2 separate regions of the Homo sapiens genome follow, and region 1 is linked to region 2. Evidence: promoter capture Hi-C in human tissues and cell types (Jung and others, 2019). All regions are on one chromosome and are shown on one strand. Each heading gives the region's core, a stretch centred on a gene start or on the middle of the fragment in contact. The rest is flanking DNA. Distances are from core to core; before and after follow the strand shown. Region 1 has its middle 15 kb from the start of TLCD3B. Region 2 holds the start of ZG16 (zymogen granule protein 16).

Evidence for each region. The method cuts DNA at HindIII sites, captures the fragments that hold promoters and counts their contacts. A contact is called where the count stands out against the background at its distance.
Region 1: a contact is called between a fragment that was not itself captured here and the fragment with the promoter of ZG16 in region 2, in 1 of the 25 tissues and cell types used here (spleen).

The regions. Positions count from the first base shown.
Region 1 is chr16:30,043,316-30,049,503 of GRCh38, reverse strand. It overlaps a transcript of TLCD3B not described here. Among named protein-coding and RNA genes, the nearest start is that of TLCD3B, 15 kb to the right of the region's middle. RefSeq lists a silencer at 659-859. The HindIII fragment of the contact is 9,203 bases long and covers 1-6,188 here.
Region 2 is chr16:29,775,367-29,782,147 of GRCh38, reverse strand. ZG16 (zymogen granule protein 16) reads right to left here and starts at 3,892. Exons shown (of 4, transcript NM_152338.4): 1 at 3,842-3,892; 2 at 2,827-2,888; 3 at 2,511-2,643; 4 at 1-2,044. The coding sequence starts at 2,881. The coding sequence ends at 1,729. RefSeq lists an enhancer at 6,086-6,380. The HindIII fragment of the contact is 7,779 bases long and covers 2,705-6,781 here.

The DNA.
Region 1 (6,188 bases), core at 2,183-4,682, 270 kb before region 2:
ACTTCCCCTAGGAAAGGGCAGACAGGATTGTATACTTCCAATAATCGTGGGGTGGGTGGGAGATCAGAGATGCAGAGTTCCCAGAAGATGAAAGAAGCTTCAGCAGGCTTGGACGTGGGAAGGGACCTGGCAGTTCTGATTCTGATCTAATACTTTCAGCTGCCTCCAATGGACATCCAACGATATCATCTCCCAGAGATTAAGAAGAGGTTCACCAGCCTCCTTAGTATAAAATGAAAGGCTTGTGTTTAGGTAATTACCCTGGGGGAATAAAGAAGCAGTGCTGAGCTAGAGCTGGTGTCAACAGAGGCCTCTCCACAGACTTTATCTTACTTAATCCTTACAGGAGGCACGAGTGGCAGAAACAATTACTTCCATCTTATAGGTTGGAAATAATAATGGCCCAGTTGGAAACAAAACGAAAAAAACCTTTAGGCCAGTGCAGTGGCTCACGCCTGTAATCCCAGCACTTTGGGAGGCCAAGGCAGGCGGACCACCTGAGGTCAGGAGTTTGAGATCAGCTTGGCTAGCATGGCAAAACCCCATCTCTACTAAAAATACAAAAATTAGCTGGGCATGGTGGCAGGTGCCTATAATCCAAGCTACTTGGGAGGCTGAGACAGGAGAATTGCTGGAACCCATGAGGTGAAGGTTGCAGTGAGCCAAGATCGCACCACTGCACTCCAGCCTGGGTGACAGACAGAGACTCCGCCCCCAAAAAGAAAAAAAAATAGCTGGGCGTGGTGGTGCATGCCTGTAATCTCAGCTACTCGGGAGGCTGAGGCAGGAGAATCACTTGAACTGGGGAGGCAGAGGGCAGAGGTTGCAGTGAGTTGAGATCATGTCACTGAACTCCAGCCTGGGCGAGAAAAAAAAAAAGCCTTTAGAACCAGGAAAGATCTGGATTTGAATTCTAGTTCTGCCACAGTATATCTGTGCAACCCTGGACAAGTCAATTGACCTCACTGAGCCTCAGTTGTACTCATGTGGAAAGTGGGGATAACCCTCAGGGACTGGCAGGGCTTTCTGTGATTATTTGAGAAAATGTATGCAAGGCACATGGCATAGAATGAAGGCTCATTAAAATATATAGCCAGGTGCAGTGGTTCATGCCTGCAATCCCCCAGCACTTTGGGAAGCTGAGGTGAAAGGATCGGTTGAGCCCAGGAGTTCAAGACCAGCCTCAGAAACATAGTGAACTCCATCTCTACAAAAAAAAAAGAAAAATTAGACATGCATGTTTTCTAATTTTCATGTGTATTTATGGTCCAACTACTTGGGAAGCTGAGGTGGAAGAATCTCTTGAGCCCAGGAGTTTTTTTGTTTGTTGTTGTTGGTGGTGGTTTTTTTTTTTTCTTTTGGAGGCGAAGTTTCACTCTTGTTGCCCAGGCTGGAGTGCAGTTGTGCGATCTTGACTCACTGCAACCTCTGCCTTCTGGGTTCAAGCGATTCTTCTGCCTCAGTCTCCTAAGTAGCTGGGATTACAGGCACCCGCCACCACGCCCAGCTAATTTTTGTATATTTAGTAGAGACAGGGTTTCACCATGTTGACCAGGCTGGTCTTGAACTTCTGACCTCAGGTAATTCACCCGCCTTGGCCTCCCAAAGGGCTGGGATTACAGGCGTGAGCCACCACGCCAGGGCTGAGCCCAGGAGTTTGAGACTACAGTGAGCTATGATTACACCACTCCACTCCAGCATGGGCAACAGAGTGAGACACTATCTCAAAAAAAAAAAAAATTATAGGCCACGTACAGTGGCTCACACCTGTAATCCCTGCATTTTGGGAGGCTGAGGCGGGTGGATCACCTGAGGTCAGGAGTTTGAGACCAGCCTGGCCAACATGATGAATACCCAGTCTCTACAAAAAATACAAAAATTAGGCTGGGTGTGGTGGCTCTCACCTGTAATCCCAGCACTGCGGGAGGCCGAGGCAGGCGGATCACTTGAGGTCAGGAGTTCGTGACCAGCCTGGCCAACATGGTAAAACCCTGTCTCTACTAAAAATACAAAAATTAGCCGAGCATGGCGGCACGTGCCTGTAATCCCAGATACTCAGGAAGCTGAGGCAGGAGAATTGCTTGAACCTGGGAGGCAGAGGTTGCAGTGAGCTGAGATTGCACCACTGGACTCCAGCCTGGGTGACAGAGGAAGACTCCATCTCAAAAAAAGAAAAAAACCCAAAACCAAAAAGCAAAAATTAGCCAGGCACGGTGGCACATGCTTGTAGCCCCAGCTACTCAGGAGGCTGAGGTGGGAAGATTGCTTGACCGCTGGGGGCAGAGGTTGCAATGAGCCGAGATTGCGCTAGATAGATAGATAGATAGATAGATAGACAGACAGACAGACAGACAGACAGACAGACAGATGACACAACAGGCAGGGCATGGTGGCTCATGCCTGTAATTCTAGCTACTTAGGAGGCTGAAGAGGGAGGATCAGTTGAGCCCAGGAGTTCAAGGCTACAGGGAGCCATGATCATGCCACTGCACTCCAGCCTGGACGACAGATCGAGATCTCATCTCTAAATATATACATTTTGAATGACTATTAATGAATATCACAATGCGTATGTGTATAGCAACTGTGCTTTACACAGATCTCATTTAATCACCCCAGCAGCCCCAGGTAGAGGTGCTGCTGTTTCATTGATGAGGAGCCCAAGGCTCAGAGGAGTTGAATCCCTTGCACAAGGATGCCAGGCTAGTGACTGGCAGAAGCAGGACTTAGGCCTGGCAATGGGACTTGGTGTGTGCTCAGTGGAGGCTCAGAGAGGTTGTGAAATTTGGCCAAGGTCACACAGCCAGTCTATGTGAGAAGAAAGGGATTGGACCCTTAGCTGTCTGACTCCAATCACCTGCTGTGCCCTCAGCTTTTTCTGGTGTGCAGATAGAGGGTGGGACTGGCATTGCTTGGGACAGTCCCTAACCTGGGACAGGTAAGTAAAAATACTAAATAATAAATGCTCTGGCACGCCAGCCAGGACTTGCCCCAGAGCCCAGGCGGGGGGAATCGGACCCTTCCCTGGGTATCATGTGGGAAACAGGCCACTTCTGGCCACTTATTGTTTACTTATTCACAGCCTTTGATGATATCACACTTGCACACCTCCGCAGGGCACCCGGTGGAGAGGATGAGTGAAACAGCCTGTGGGCGGCAGAACCTGGAAGAACAGAGAACGGTAAACTCAAGGCCAAGGGTAAATTGGGTGGCGGGTCTCTAAGGACTGCCTGGGGGTGAAACTCACCTGGGGAGACAGGCTAGGGGAAGGAAAGATGGTGGCCAAAGTCACAGAGGCTTGGATGGGCCCTCCTATACCCCTGCCCTGCACTGCCCCTCCACACGTGGTGGACTGCCTAATGCTCTATGTTTTGTTTGTTTTTGTTTTGTTTTTGAGACAGGGTCTCCCTCTGTCACCCAGGTTGGAGTGCAGTGGCGCGATCATGGCTCACTGTGGCCTCCACCTCCCTAGCTCAAGCGATCCTCTCACCTCAGCCTCCTAAGTAGCTGGGACTACAGGCACACAGCACCACGCCCAGCTAATTTTTTTGACTTTTTGTAGAGAGGAGGTCTCACTGTGTTGCCCAGCCTGGCCCCATGCTTTCTGGCTGCACACCCAGGCCAGGACAGGCTGGTGTGTCTCCCTTCCTCTGCTGGGATGTCCTGAACACCCATTGACCACCCGACAAGGGTTCAGAGTATGTGGTGCATCCCATCTTGGGTTTATTTTAGGTGGTATGTCAGCAAGAAGACACACACACACACAAACACACACCACACACACAAACACACACAACACACACACACACAAACACACACCAAACACATCAACACACACACCATACACACACCACATAAACACACATACCACACACAAATACACACACACACCACACAAACACACACACCACTCACCACACACATACCACATACACCACACACACACCACATACACCACACACACACACCACACATACCACACACACCACACACACACACCATACACACCACACAAACACACATACCACACACACAAATACACACACACCACACATGCACCACACACACACCACACACACTACACAAACACACCACACACCACACACACCATACCCACGCACACCACACACACAAACCACACACACACACACCACACACACAAACACACACAAACACCACACACACACCCCATACACCCACCCCACACACACCCCACCACACACACACCACACACATCACACACACACCACACACACACCCTGAACAAGCTACTCTCTTTCTCTTTCCAATTCCCTTTCAACGCTTCTGATTACTGCAGGAGAAACTCTCAATTTGCTGCCAGAAACCCTTTAACACCTTTCTCTCTGTGCTTATCTTTTTGTTCTTTTTTTTTTTTTTTTTTTTTTTTTTTGAGATGGAGTCTTGCTTTGTCGCCCAGGCTGGAGTACAGTGACACGATCTTGGCTCACTGAAATCTCCACCTCCTGGGTTCAAGCAATTCTTCTGCCTCAACCTCCTGACTAGCTGGGATTACAGGTGCATGCCACCACGCCCGGCTAATTTTTATATTTTTAGTAGAGATGGGGTTACACCATATTGGCCAGGGGCTGGTCTCGAACCCTTGACCTTAGTTAATCCGCACCCCCCCGCCGCCCGCCGGCCTCCAAAGTGCTGGGATTACAGGCTTGAGCCACTGCGCCCGGCCTGATCTTTCTTTTTTGAACAAGGAGAGAGCCAGCCTCCAGTTCAGAATGAGCAGCTGCCCATAGTATCTAGCTAGAATGTTATAAAATGTGTTTTCATTTTGTATATTTTTTGTTACCTTCTGTTTATCACAGGTGGTACTGGTTTTCTATTTTCCAGAGTGATAAAAAGTTTCCTTTTAAAGTACATGGTAGCCACAGTGGCTTACTTCTGTAATCCCAGCACATTGGGAGGCCAAGGCAGGCAGATCGCCTGAGGTCAGGAGTTTGAGACCAGCCTGGGCAACAGGTTGAAACCCTGTCTCTACTAAAAAAAATACAAACAATTAGCCGAGTGTGGTGGCAGGCACCTGTAATCCCAGCTACTCGGGAGGCTGAGGCAGGAGAATAGCTTAAACCCAGGAGGCGGAGGTTGCAGTGAGCCGAGATCGCACCATTGCCCTCCAGCCTGGGCAACAAGAGCGAAACTTCATCTCAAATGAAAGAAAATAAAGTACATGGTTAGTTTAGCACTGTGGCTCATGCCTGTAATCCCAGCACTCTGGGAGGTGTGAGGCAGGCAGATCACTTGAAGTCGGGAGTTTGAGACCAGCCTGGGCAACATGGTGAAACCCCATCTCTACTAAAAATACAAAAATTAGCCAAGTGTGATGGCACACACTTGTAATCCCAGCTACTCCAGAGGCTGAGGCAGGAGAATCGCTTGAACCTGGGAGGCGGAGGTTGCAGTGAGCTGAGATCGCACCACTGCACTTTAGCTTGGGAGACAGAGTTAAAAAAAAAAAAAAAAGGACATGGTTAGCTCATGCTAACCATGGTGGTTCACACCTATAATCCCAGCACTTTGTGAGGCCGAGGCAGGAGGATCGGGCGTATTGCTGGAGCTCAGGAGTTTGAGACCAGCATGAGCAACATGGCGAAACCCTGTCTCTACCAAAAATACAAAAAATTAGCCGTGCATGGTGGTGGCTTGCCTATGGTCCCAGCTACTCAGGAGGCTGAGGCAGGAGGATCACTTGAGCCTGGCAAATGGAGGTTGCAGGAAGCTGAGATGGCACCACTGCATTCCAGCCTGGGCAACAGAGTGAGAACCCCATCTCAAAAAATAATACATGGTGAAAAACAAAACAAAACGCACAACCTGTGCTCTGAAAATCAGATTACTTGGTTCAAATCCCCGCTTGTGCCACTTTCTACCTGCATGACCTTGAGCAAGCCACACAACCTCTCTGTGCCTCAATTTCCTCATCCGAACAGTGACTGAGAGTATGTCTCACCTGACACGTGATTTGTGCCTATAATCCCAGCACTTCGGGAGGCCAAGGTAGGAGAATGCTTGAGGCCAGGAGTTTGAGACCAACCTGGGCAACAAATCGAGACCCCCATCTGTAGGAAAAACTTAAAAAATAAGCTGGTAGTGATGAGCCTGAGAGCCTGTAGTCCCAGCCACTTGGGAGGCTGAGGCAGGAGGATCCCCTGAGCACA
Region 2 (6,781 bases), core at 2,643-5,142:
CGTATTGGCAGTGATGAGGGATCCAGCACTGTAACTGATGAGTTAAAGGACAGCATTTGGGTGCAAGAAGATGGCACTAAAACTGGTGCCTGTGTTTCCCAAGAGGCAGAGCAGCTCTTGTCTGTCACAAAGACCAGCTTCCTCAGGTAGTGTGTGAACCTGCCTGATCTGATGCCCAACATGATGGGTGATCCTTTCACCTGAACTTGGTCCACAGACTGCCTCTCCCTGCCATTGTCTGCTGATTCTCCACCCAGTCCTCCATGGTGTTATCAGGTGCAATGCTTAATTTAGGTGTCAGGTTGGTTCCATTTTGTTAGGATGTGACATATGTTACTCCATTTTGATACTGATAACATTCCTTTTTTTTTTAGATGGAGTCTCACTCTGTCATCCAGGCTGGGGTGCAGTTGTGCTGTCTCAACTCATTGTAACCTCTGCCTCCAGCATTCAAGTGATTCTCATGCCTCAGCCTCCCAAGTAGCTGGGATTACAGGTGACTGCCACCACACCTGGCTAATTTTTGTATTTTTAGTAGAGACAGGGTTTTACCATGTTGGAGGCTTGTCTCCAACTCCTGACCTCAAATGATCTGCCTGCCTTGGCCTCCCAAAGTGCTGGGATTACAGGTGTGAGCACTGTGCCCAGCCAGATATTGATAACTTTTACAAAACTAACGTATACCTTCACTCATTTTAATTTTCTTCCCTTCTTAAAATTTCTTTCCCCAACTACATAACCATCCTCTTCTATCTCTTTTGAGACCTCACCAGTGATCTCTTTTCAGAATCTCCAGCCTCTTTCTCTTTCTTCCTCTTTATCATGTGAACATGCTTGTGACTCTCCTGTCTAGGATTTTAAAAAGACACAAAACCCTTTTTCCTTACACCCCCGAAAACTGACTTGCCTATTTCTGGCAAACCACAGCCAAACTTCTTGAAACACTCGATTCTTGCTGCCTGTGTCTTCTCACCTCCCATTCATTCCTTAATGAGTTCAGCCTAGTGTCAGCCTCCCGCAGTCCACTGTAACCTTCTGATGGCTAAAGCCTAAGAGCATAGTGTGGGCAGGGTTTCCACTGCTGAGAAGGTGGTGGCTTCCTGAGGAAGGAGGAATCCCAGATCTGAGAGGGCTTAGCAGGACACCGGGGCTCATGGGTAGAGGTGAGGAGGAACTGGGCCTGGTAACAGGGCAGGGTCCTCGGGCACAGACTTCAGCTAAGTTTCAGGAGTCAGGTGGGTTCTGGGAAAGAACAAAGGCTAATGGTCCTGGCCACCCACACACAGCAAGTGAGTTCACCACTTTCTCAAGGGGAGGACCAGGGGTGAGGAGAGCTGGAGAGTGGGACATCTGGGGTTTTGGTGTAAGCCACAACTAGGCCTTGCCCTCAGACCCATGACTCCAGTTTGGATCAATGTTCCAAGGAGCTGTCCTTGAAGAGCGTTGATGCAAGCCAGAATCTCATCTCCTCTTGATAAATTATAGCACAAAGCCCAGGATTCTTACATACCTCTCCCTCATCTTCCCATCTTCCAGACAGATGTCCAAAGCCAGCCAGAAGTGAGATTTGCACGTCCCCGGCTAAGTCAGGAGGCAGATATCCCAGCCACAGATGCCCCCACACAGACTAGCCTTAACCATATTTTTTTTATTGAGCCATTTGGATGGGGGTTAGTGATAAGGGAGTTCTTACTCCTCATCACAGTGCCCCTGCCAAGGAGAGGAGGCTCAGCATCTGCTGCAGCTACTGGGGTAAACATCCCAGTGCAGGCCAATGGCATCGATGAGAGAACCAGACCGGCCACTGATGAAGCGGAGCACGGTGTTGGGGTGCAAGGGGACGGCATTGAAACTTGTGCCACTGTCTTTCCCAAAAGACAGATAGCGGCCCTTGTCTGTCACAAATACCAGCTTCTTCAGGTACCACTTGTACTTCCCAGAAACCTGGATCACTGATTCCCCAGGGTGCAGAAAGATCTCCTCCAGGTCTCCGTTGCGACCACCCACATAGTCGCTCCACACCTTGCCATAGCGCACCTGAAGACTGAGGAAGAGGGGAGGAAGGAAGGAGAAAGAAAGGTGATGATAGGGATGAGAGGTCTCTGGCTAGTCCTACAGACTGTGAAGCCTGGGTGAACCCTGGAAGATCCTACAGGGAACTTCAACTCATTTTGCCAACAAAGAGACTCTGTCACCCAGGCTGGAGTGCAGTGGCATGATCTTGGCTCACTGCAGCCTCAACATCCTGGGCTCAGGCAATCCTCCCGCCTCTCCCTCCTGAGTAGTTGAGGCTACAGGTACTCACCACCATGCCTGGCTAATTTTTTTGTTTTTCTTCGGTAGAGATGGGGTCTTGGTACCTGGAGCATGGTTTAAATCCCTGGCATCCCTGGCATCTTGCCCAGGCTGAGCTAGAACTCCTGGCCTCAAGCGATCTGCCTCTGCCTCCCAAAGCATTGTAATGACAGATGTGAGCCACCGCGCCCAGCCAGGAATTCAAAGAATCTTACCCTACGATGTAGTATGTGTTGACTCGGACCCGGAGGGCGGTGATGGGGCCGTCCAACTGGTTGCCAGAATGAGAGAATCGCTTTCCACCACCACCTCCATACTCTCCACTATAGGAGGAAGACCTGGCCTGAACTGGAGGGGCAAGCAGGAGTTGGAGGGAGAAATCTTCCAGGAGTTCAGTTTCTCTGCATCACCCCTGTTCCTCCGACAACTCAGCTCCCCACCCCAAGCCAACCTCCAAAAGCCTTGGCCAACAGCAGTGCCCAAGGCTGCCTTCCCAAGTCCCCAATACCAGGCTCCTGGTATCTCACTTACTGGCATTGCCAGAGGCTGAGGCACAGAGAAGGGCTAGGAGAGCGACTGTCAACATTCTGGGGCTGGAGTGGGAAGAAAAGAGCAAATGAAGATTCACCTTCTTCCTTGTTGACTTGATTGACCCAGGCACTCCTGACCTGCAGCTCAGACCAAGCCTTCTTCGTCCTTCAACTTAGACCTAGCAGACCCAGTCTTGAGCTTAGAAAGGACTGTCCATAGCCTGTAGTCCTGTTCCTCTCTGATGCTACCTTCAATGTCCCTGACCCCTCCAGCTCTCCCTGGTCTGGCTGTAGCCAAGCCCTCCTCTTTTTCTCTCAGGCCTGAAGATGAACTCTAACTATCTGGATTAAGCCTTATTCCATCCTGGCACAAAGCAGAAAAGTTTTCTGAAGTCAGCCAAGCCCAGGTACATTTGGGTTGGTATGGCCATAGCCAGGAAACGAGTTTTCTAAGGAGGGAGTAGAGGACCTCTCCCAAGCAAAGAGATGGCTGAGTTTACTGAGCCCAGAGGCTGAGCAAAGAAAGCCTCATCATCTGTGGTGAATTGGCCTGGATTATGGGGCACCTGGAGCATGGTTTAAATCCCTGGCATCCACCTGGTCTCAAGGAAAGAAGCATTTTAGAGTTGCCTCTATGTTACCTGGGGAGCAAAGTTGGTGACAGAAGGAACTGTGCCAGCACCAGTATCCAAGCAGTGCTGGTGGAACTAGGACAGACAGAGAAGTTGCAGAAGGAGTCGGGACCAGCTCAAGATATTAGACCCCAGGTGCCTGGTCTATGTGTCACTATTCTTTTCTCCACTAACACACATCTGGCCATTTCTATTCTCCTGAACATCCCAGGTGTCCCCAGTCCTTCAGCAGAGACCTAGACAGCTTTGCACCTAAGATTACTGCAGACCCAGAAGCGCCAATTAACTCAAGTCTTTCCTGCCATTCCTTCCAGGCATCCTCTTCGCCAGCTCAGATTTGAATTCCCCCCCAACTCAGATTCAGGCATCTCTGTCACCCCTCACCTGACAGTTTCAGATGCAAAGCAGCCCCCTGGAAACTTCCAGATGTTTTATACCAGGTCCAAGCCCTCCTCCTGCCCTTTATTGTGTGAACCTCACCTCCTGAGCAAACATGAGCAACCTCTTCGGATCAGGTGTCAGGCAGGGTCTGGAACACCTTATCCTGCCTCTACCCCATAGTCAACAGATACTACAGCATAGGGTAAGATTCTCTGAGTTCCTGGCTGGGCATGGTGACTCACACCTGTCATTACAATGCTTTGGGAGGCAGAGGCAGATCGCTTGAGGCCAGGAGTTCTAGCTCAGCCTGGGCAAGAGTGTGAGACCCCATCTCTACCAAAACAAAAAACAAAAACAAAAATTAGCCGGGCATGGTGACGAGCACCTGTAGCCTCAACTAATCAGGAGGGAGGTAGGGAAGATCGCCTGAGCCCAGGACGTTGAGGCTGCAGTGAGACAAGATCACGCCACTGCACTCCAGCCTGGGTGACAGGTGGCAAGCTGGAGTCCACTCTGGGCCAAGTGCCGTATACCAGGAGAAACATAGTAAACTTAAGGTCACCACCAGCAGCTCTAGGTGGGCAAAGTAGCTTATCACCTCTAGGCTTAGTAGGTGCTCTCACCTGAAATCTGCCATCTGTCAGGACAAACAGAGCCCTTCCCAGGCATTCGAAATGTGGATTCTCCCAGAAGGGAATATATTCCCAAAATCTTATACTTACGAGTGCTGACTATTTGCCAGACATTTTTTTCTTTCCCTTTTCTAATATTATGAAAAATCCAAACACATATAAAAGTTTAAAGAATTGTACAGTGGCTGGGCCCAGTGGCTCACACCCATAATCCAACACTTTGGGAAGCTGAGGCAGCTGGATCACCTGAGGTCAGGAGTTTGAGACCAGCTTGGCCAACATGGCGAAACCCCATCTGTACTAAAAATACAAAAAGTAGCTGGGTGTGATGGCAGGTGCCTGTGATCCCAGCTAGTCAGGAGACTGAGGCAGGAGAATCACTTGAACCTGAGGGGCAGAGGTTGCAGTGAGCTGAGATCACTCCACTGCACTCTAGCCTGGGCGACAGAGTGAGACTCCATCTCAAAAAAAAAAAAAAAAAAAACAAAAGAATCGTATAGCAAGACTGGGTGCAGTGGCTCATGCCTGTAATCCCGGCACTTTGAGAGGTCAAAGCAGGAGGACTGCTTAAGCTCAGGAGTTCAGGACCAACATGGGCAACATAGGGAGATCTCGTCTCTACAAAAAATAAAACAATTAGCCAGGCATGGTGGTGCACACCTGTGATCCCAGCTAGTCAGGAGGCTGAGGCAAGAGGATCACTTGAGCTGAGGAGGTCAAAGTTGCAGTGAGCCATGATCGAAACATCAAGTCTCAAAAAAAGGAAAAAAAAAAAAAGAATTGTATAGTGGACACTTATATAACCACTGTATAGATTCTACTATGGTTAATATTTTGCTGTAATTGCTTTTTTTTCTTTCTTCTTTTTGGAGACACAGTCTTGCTCTATCCCTCAGGCTGGAGGGCAGTGGCGCGATCTCGGCTCACTATAATCTCTGCTTCCCAGGTTCAAGCGATTCTCCTGCCTCAGCCTCCCGAGTAGCTGGGATTACAGGCATGCGCCACCACGCCCAGCTAATTTTTGTAATTTTAGTAGAGACAGGGTTTCGCCATGTTTGCCAGGATGGTCTCGATCTCTTGACCTCGTGATCCGCCCACCTCGGCCTCCCAAAGTGCTGGGATTACAGGCGTGAGCCACTGTGCCTGGCCTGCATTTTTTTTTCTATCCACTCATCTATTTATCCCCAATATGCCAAACACTTCCCAAACCATTTCTCTCTGAGAAGGATGACTGGGGCTGCAGGTGCACAGTGAACACGTGCCTATTGCCCCACAGGAAACAGAGTCAGTCCAATGGGAAGTGCAAAGCTAAGGATCCGAAGGTCTACAGGTGTTCCTCTGGGGGTAATTCTGGGCTTTGGGCCCTCAAGTCTCCTGGGTACCATGGCTGAATCTTCCTGGGGCTGTAGGCCGCCCAGGGCCATTGCTTCTTTCTTAGGTCTGTAACACCCCCAGGGGTGATGTCATAGTTTTTTTTTTCTCTGTATGCCCTTCATTTTCAGGACTGATTCCTCTCTGCCTAAAATCCCTAAGACTGACTCCAGGGACCTAGTGCCTGACCCCTCCTGGACTGGCCCTCTGACCTCTCTGAATCAGGAGGTCCAAGAAGAGGGAAGGATGGAGGACCAGAAGGGGCTGGAATAAGTGCTCTCAATTATAAATGACTAGTCAGGCATTCAGAGCACCCCACCCCTCACAGGTTTACCATCTGGGGCCAATGACTCATCCCAGATAGCAAAGGCAGTCCCGCCTGAGGATCTGGAAATGGGGGGAATCCAGGGTGGTGAGTTCTGGGAGTGAAACAGAACAGCAGCCAAAGATTCCACGTTCACTCCTCCCTTCCCCTCTCTTTTTCTCCAAGGTCAGTGTCAGCACATCCTGCTACTATAACTTTCACCTCATTCCAGCCATTTTGTTTTGTGTCTCTCTCCCTCTCTCTTTCCTGGTGACTCTCCTTCCCTTTATGTCTTCATCTTTCCCTGCTCTGGGGAGGATTTTTCTTTCTTTCTTTCTTTCTTTTTTTTTAGATGGAGTCTTGCTCTGTTGCCAGGCTGGAGTGCAGTGGCGCGATCTCGACTCACTTCAACCTCTGCCTCCAGGGTTCAAGCAATTCCCCTGCCTCAGCCTCCTGAGTAGCTGGGACTACAGGTGCGCACCACCACACCCAGATAATTTTTTCTATTTTACTAGAGATGGGGTTTCACCATGTTGGCCAGGATGGTCTCAATCTCCTGACCTTGTGATCCACCTTCCTCAGCCCCCCAAAGTGCTAGGATTATAGGCGTGAGCCACCACACCCGGCCTTTTTTTC